Linked DNA regions of Homo sapiens: region 2 is linked to region 1. The links are contacts of gene promoters, found by promoter capture Hi-C in human tissues and cell types (Jung and others, 2019). All regions are on one chromosome and are shown on one strand. The core of a region is centred on a gene start or on the middle of the fragment in contact, and the rest is flanking DNA. Distances in the headings are between cores, read along the strand shown. Region 1 holds the start of XIRP2 (xin actin binding repeat containing 2). Region 2 has its middle 72 kb from the start of SCN7A.

The links. The method cuts DNA at HindIII sites, captures the fragments that hold promoters and counts their contacts. A contact is called where the count stands out against the background at its distance.
Region 2: a contact is called between a fragment that was not itself captured here and the fragment with the promoter of XIRP2 in region 1, in 1 of the 25 tissues and cell types used here (mesendoderm cells).

Annotation. Positions count from the first base shown.
Region 1 is chr2:166,887,120-166,890,823 of GRCh38, forward strand. XIRP2 (xin actin binding repeat containing 2) reads left to right here and starts at 1,361. Exons shown (of 11, transcript NM_152381.6): 1 at 1,361-1,438. The HindIII fragment of the contact is 6,044 bases long and covers 1-3,704 here.
Region 2 is chr2:166,564,450-166,568,349 of GRCh38, forward strand. No RefSeq gene overlaps it. Among named protein-coding and RNA genes, the nearest start is that of SCN7A, 72 kb to the left of the region's middle. The HindIII fragment of the contact is 4,250 bases long and covers 147-3,900 here.

The DNA.
Region 1 (3,704 bases), core at 111-2,610:
ACTAAATACTGATGCTGACAGGTCTGTAATTTCTAAAGTTATCTGTTTTTTAATCTTCCCAGAGTAGAAACAAGAAACACACCAAGATAAGTACTGCATTTAGTCTTTTTAATATAGCAGAATGTCTAAGTCCTTTTTAAGTTCATAGATGTTGAGCTAATTGTTCTTTATTGACTTTGGCAAACTCTTGGAAAAATAATTAAGTCACCAGAATTTGCAGTTCAAAATGTGACCAGTTTATAACATTAGCCTTGTAGTCGAACCTTTATATCACACCCTGTATCGTCTCCAAATACCATATCATAACTGCCCTATATTTTAAGCTTTCAAACAAGATTTCTGAAACCTACAGTTTGAATACTGGCTAAGCACTGCAGTTATTTATATAATTTATGGTCATTTTTATATATGAAAATTCATTGATTAAAGTTGTAAGATTTAATTTATTATATTAAAATGCATTTCTGCTATTGAATTCCTTTATGCAAAAAAATCAACATTGTCTTTAGTAGTATATCACTGAACCCCTTATATATAAAAACCCCAGTTTGGAACAAAGAGCTATTAGATGACCAAATAAGAATCAAATTAGACTCTGCAATTAGAGTCTGCGAAGAGAAAGACTTTACTTATTTGAAATAGTATATAGCTTACTATATGTAAAATAAAATAAAATTATCTCAGAAGCTGTGGTCTCCTATAATTTGTAGAAGATGATAACTGATATCGCTAAGCACTTTTTGGTTGCAAATAACTATACTTAAATACTGCTAATAAAAGCTGACATCCGCTGATCACTTGCTTCATACCAAGCACTATCCTAAGTTCTTTATGAGCGTGATTTCATTTATTTTGTTCATCTCACAACAGTATAGTTAGAACATACTATTATCATCCCAATTTTCAAGTGAGGAAACTAATGTTTGGATATATTAAATAATGCATCTAATGTCATATACTAGTGTTTGAGTAGGAATTTGAAGCCATTTGGTTTGAATCTGGACTCTATGTTCATGATCATTATCCAAAATTCTCAGGTGTCCCAACCCCTCACAAATGACTTTGAATTAAATATTAGGTTTATTTTTATATGTATGGAACCTGACGCACAGTGATAATTAAAGTGTAGCTCAGCCATAGAGTGAGCCATTGGTCACTATGGGTCTTTGGGTTAAAACATACCTTTAAGAATATGTAGGAAAAAAATGATAATAGCTAACTCAGCAGCATTCATTAATTCATCTGCAGCAGATTAACTTGTTCCAAAATAATGAGATAATCTGATTCTGATGGAACATGGAGCAGACAAATTCTTCTAGAACCCGACCTGTTTCTATGTGGGTGTATCCAGGAAGTCAGGATTATTTGGAGAAATCTGGCAGGTCTCTAGGCAGACAAAAGGGAACATCTGGTAGGGACTGGGACATGTAGAAAAAAGGTAAGATTTTCCTAAGAAAAACCACTTCTTTCATAATTTTTTCTACACATACATGCTTCTCTTTGATAGTTTCTGACAGGACACTATTTTGCCTCTCTCTCCCTATTTCTTTTAAGTAATATACATTAAATTAGCATAGAATCACAGCATCATCAACAAATTCAGGCTAGCGCTTAGTGACAGACACTGCTGCTAGAATCTCTAGTTATTCATTTGTTTTTCTAACTAAGAAACAATTTAATCTGGGGCAGCAATGTGCCCAGAGAAAAAATAGTTAATCTCTCAGACTCAAAACACGTAAGTTTGGCTATATATTATATTTTTGGACACTGAAAGATAGTCAGGGACTTCTGGGGAAGAAATTTAACAAAAACAGCATCACCCAAAGAAAGCATCTGGGCAATTCTCCTTTCTTCCTTCGTTCCATTGAGTCAGGTCAGAGAGGACTCGCCAGGGACAAAGCCATGACCCTCAGGGACCCAAGGGCATGAGCCTGCAGCTGACAGCCCCATTCTGAATAAGCATTCAGGCACACAGACCAGGGTGGTTGTTGCAAACCCCTCAGCAGCTGCCTCCTGGCACAACCACCCACTAACATGTGATCTAGCAGACAAATGGAAGCTCTTCTTACCCCACTTCTTAGGCACTCCAACAAGGGTTCTGAATTCTAAAAACAGCAAAAAACATTCAAATTGTTACATATGAAATGCTTTCCTGCACCTTTCTATCTCAGAGATGACAGCTGTCCCTCCTCCACTCTCTCCCCACTCGCCCCCAGACACCTCCCTAAACAATTTCTGTGCCAAGATGAAGAGGATGTCCCAGGCCATGGGGCTTCTGGCCTTGAAGGGCTGCTGCAGTGGAGCCAGGGCACAGGGTAGGTGAGACACAGCAGAGGTTCTGGCCCAGGTCCCTGGCCTCTCCTCCTGCAGGTGGCGTTTATTTATTCAAGGGGAGCAACCATGTTCATTTTCCCAACAATGTGGCACCATATTTTGCTTTCCTCTCCACTTCCTTCTTCCTTGCAGCCTTCTCCCACTGTTTCCAGATGATCACCAGCCAGGCAAGGCCCACCTTGGCTTGCTCTGTCTCTCCTGCTAGTGCATTTTCTCCTTAAAAGCTCCTTTAGCCTGTCCAGATCCACTTGTTTGACCTTTCTGGTTGTCTATCCTACCTGCTTGGGGTTCTTGATGTTGATGAGTCCTTCCATGCCTTTGTGCTTTTGCTGGTAGTCATTTTCTTCATTTTCATTCTCTCATAAGTCTAGATTTCTTCCCCTTTTTGGGGTAAGCCCCATCTCCACCTTCTTCTCCTTGTTATTCTTCTCCATAGCAAGCAATCCTCAAGCAGGTATTGAATTAATGAATGGTGTTGTGTCTTCTCCAGTTCATTAATATTTCTGTTGATGTAGCTAAGTTTTATTTACTTTTTAGTTTTATTTTATTTTATTTTATTTGAGACAGAGTCTTGCTCTGTCACCCAGACTGGAGCATAGTGGTGTGATCTCGGCTCACTGCAACGTCCACCTCCCAGGTTCAAGCGATTCTCCTGCCTCAGCCTCCTGAGTAGCTGGTATTACAGGCACGTGCCACCATGCTGGCTATTTTTTTGTTTTTTAGTAGAGATGGGGTTTCACCGTGTTAGCCAGGATGGTCTCAATCTTCTGACCTCATGATCCTCCCACCTCAGCCTCCCAAACTGCTGGGATTACAGGCATGAGCCACCGTGCCTGGCCCCTAAGTTTTATTTTTTAACTGTGGGTTCATAGGCTTCGGGCATCAGAATCACCTCTTGGTGCTTTCTAAGAAGGCCAGTTCCCAGTTCAAATTCCAGACCTTGAAACTAGCTGAAACTCCCCGAGTGGGCCCTTAAGAATCTGCAGTGCTAAGGACATCTCAGATGATGTTGGTGCACAGAAAAGGTGAGAACCAGAGCATCTGAACAGACTGTAAATCCCTGAAGTCTGGATTTATGTTTTATAATTCTTTGACAGCTCTCAATAGTAAACTCTAAAAGTTTGTTTTTATTTTTATTATTCACACTGAGATTCATATTTGAAATTTCATGAGAGCAAATTTTGCATGCTTCTTTTATTACAGATGTATTCTGTATGTGGGTGTAGCAGAAGCTGATATGACAGATCATCAGCTTTGTCCTAAATAACAGGTATTGTCTGGTACGCAGCCTGCTTGGGATAATCCATGAAATATTTAACAAATTTCTTCTTTTGTTAAATACTAATTACCCATATCCTCCAGACAGTTTT
Region 2 (3,900 bases), core at 1,022-3,521, 320 kb before region 1:
ACTGGAAAAAATATATATACGTTAAATAGCAATCAGAGTGCTGGAAACACATACGTAATTTAACATTGTGTTGAGGAGTAGAGCAAAAACATTAAAACATTATTGTGATACTTCCATTAAGACCAAGGATAAGAGGAAATCGGATAAAGAAATTCATTGCATTGACTAGAAACGGACACCTTTAAACATCATAATATTCAATATTTGCTGATGTTAGAATTAAATGTAGATAACAGAACATTACTAGAAGTAGTGTTCAATAAATTGAACTAAATTATTACTTAACATGTAATATAATGATAATATCAATACAAATGATATAGTGATAAAGAATAAATATTTATATGCTAAGAAGATCATTTGAAAACTATAATCATCTGGAATAATTTATTTTATCTAATCCTTGCATAAAACTTCATTGAGATTTTATGTCTGCTATAGCTATTTAAGCCAAAGCCCTGAAGATAAATTACTATGGGAGAAAGCTACTCTGGAATGAAAACTCTTGCAATTTTAATAAAACAGAACTCATAACTGCAATTTTAATAAAACAGAACTCATAACTACAATTTTAATATGTTCTGTGAAACAATTTTTTTATCAAATTCATTTGTTTCGTTATATCCCAATGACAAAAAGGACCAAATTGCTCTGGGTGAGTCAGGGAATGAGTGGTGAGTGAACGTAAAGGCCTAGGACATTATTATACATGACTATAGACTTTATAAACATTGTACAGTCTCCACTCAATTTACTAAAACACTTTTTTCTTCAATAATAAGTTAGCTTAGTGTAACTTTTTTATTGTATAAACATTTTAATTAAATTTTTTGACTCTCAAAATAATAGTTTAAAACACAAACACAATGTACAGCAGTACAAAAATATTTTCTTTAAGCATTCTTCCATTTTTAAAATTATTTATTTTACTTTTTAACCTTTTTTGTTAAAAAAGTAGACACAAACACACACATTAGCCTAGGCCTACATAGAGTCAAGATAATATCACAGTTTTCTACCTTTATATTTTTTTCACTTTAATGTCTTCAGGCGCAATCAACATGCATGGAACTGTCATCTCCTATGATAATAATGCCTTCTTGTGGCATACCTCCTGAACCTGCTTAAGACTGTTTTACAGTTAACTTAAAAAAATAAGTAGAAGGAGTACACTATAATTGGAGATGTATTCTCCATAGATCCTGGTCTGAATCCATCATGTAACGTTCTGGCAGGAATGGATGAACATGCTAGGAAACAATGCAAAATGAGCTATACAACAAACACTGCAAAGCAAATAAAAAAGTTTATTGCCATGAAAAAGGTCAACATACCCTTGAGTAGAAAAATTATACATGGAAAAAACATTCAGAGTATTAAAGTAATTTGAGGCCACTTTAAAGTGAATTCGTTTAAAATTTTCAAAAGGCATCTATAAAATGGCCAAGAGATTGTAAACTAATAGATGAACATGTAAAAAGAGCTAAGAATATGTTAGAAAATTAGAATCCTTTACATTTAAAAATCAATAAATAAGTAGTAAATTAAACATAGCTGAATAAAGAATTAGTACATTTGATAATACATTTAGGTACAAATAAATGGAAAGATACTCAGTTTCCATGGATTGGAAGAAGGTCCATACTACTCAAAGAAGTCTATAGATCCAAAGCAAAATTCCAATGACATTTTTTCAGAAATGGAAGAAACAATCCTAAAATGTGTACAAAGCCATGAAAGGTTAGGAATACCTGAAGAAATCTTGAGCAAAAGAACAAGCTGGAGGCATCACACTACCTAATATCAGAATCAGTTACAAGCTGTAATAATCAAAACAGCAAGGTACTGGCACAAAACCAGACATATAGACCAATGAAACAGAATAGAGGCTCCAGAAATAAATCTATGCAATTCTCTTTTGATAATGATATTAAAAATACATATTGGAGAAAAGATAAAATTTTTAAAAGTGGTATTGGGAAAACTGGATGTGAAGAAAAAGAAAATTAGACCCTTATCTCATACCATATTAAAAAAATCAATGGAAAATGAATTAAGGACTAAAATTTAAGGTCTGAAACTGTAAAATAACTGGAAGAAAACACATAGGAAAAGCTTTATGACATTGGTCTAAGCAATGAGTTTTTGGCAATGACCATAAAAGCCCAGGCAACAAAATCAAAAATAGAAAAATGAAATTACATCAAACTAAAAACCTTTTTCACTGCCAAGGAAACAATCAACAGAATGCAGAGACAACTTAAAAAAATGGACAATATTTATAAACCATATTTCTAATAAGGGGTTAATATCCAAAATGTGTAAGGAATTCAAACAACTGAATAGCAAACAAACAAACAACAACAAAAAAAAAACACTTAAAAATGCGCAAAGGTTGTGAGTAGACATTTCTCCAAAGAAGACATGTAAATAGCCAACAAATATATAGAAAGATGCACGACCTCACTAATCATCAAGGAAATGCAATTAAAACCAAAATAAGATATCACGTCACACCTGTTAGAATGGCTATTCTCAAATAGAGAAAAGATAACAACTGTTTTGTGAGGGTACAGAGAGAAGAGAATCCTTATACATTGTTGGTAGAAATGTAAATTAGCATAGCCATTATGGAAAACAGTATGGAGATTTCTCAAAAAATTAAAAATAGAACTACCTGATGATTCAGCAAGCCCACTAGTGGGTATGTATCCAAAAGAAATGAAATCAGTATGTCAAAGAGATATCTGCACTTCCATGTTCATTGCAGCCTTATCCTCAATTGCCATGATATGGGATCAACCTAATTGTTGTCCTTCAGCAAATGAATGGATAAAGAAAATGCGGTATATACACACAATGAAATACTATTCTACCCTAAAAAAAGAAGGAAATCCTGTTATTCTCGAAAACATAGATGAACCTAGAGGAAATTATGCTAATTGAAATAAACCAGACACAGAAACAAATACCACATCCTCTCACTTATACGTGAAATCTAAAAAGGTGAAACTCACAGAAGCAGAGAATAGAATGGTGGTTACCAGGTTTTGGGGGTTAGGAGATGGAGACTAGGGAGGTCTTGGTCAAAAGATACAAAATTTCAGTTAGACAGGAAAAATAAGTTTAAGAGATCGACTATGCAACATGGCCACTATAGCTAATAATATATTGTGTACTTAAAAATTGCTGAGATAGGTTTTAACTGCTTTTATCCCAAAAAAACAAGTGTATGAGATGGTGTGTATGTTAAATAGCTTGATTTTTGCTATTCTATAACGTATGCATGTTTTAAAACATCACGCTGTATACCATAAATATATATAATTTTAAATTATCAATTAAAATAAATACATAAAATCATGTAAATTTCCAGAGTGTAACAAAATTAGGACATATGAAAGAGAAATTAGTTGTATCAAGAAACAGCAGCATATAATAAACTTCAAAGAATAGGATAATAGAAAGGATGAGAAGGTGATAATCAAAGAGATAATGGCTCAGAATTTTTCAAAATTGAGAAAGAAGTGGCGAAAATTTGACAAAGCCCATTAGGTGCTAAGCAACATTAATAAAAATGAATCTACAATCAGCATACAAAAATAATGAAACATATTGAAAATATTTAAAAGTGAATATACAGATTTTCTATGGAGAAATAACAAGCATATTAAAAGCAGAGTTTATCTCAGCAACAATTTATCTTCGAAGACAATGGAATAATATCTTCAAAGTGTTGAGGGGAAAATGTCTTTAAATGTTGAGCTCTGTGTCCAAAGTGTTTATTAAGGCATTTCACACACATACAATAATCAAAACAGCTCACCACTATCAAGACAGAATAAAATAAGACCTCTCTATACAAAGAAAACAAAAGTGACAGCAAAGTTAGTCTTCTTT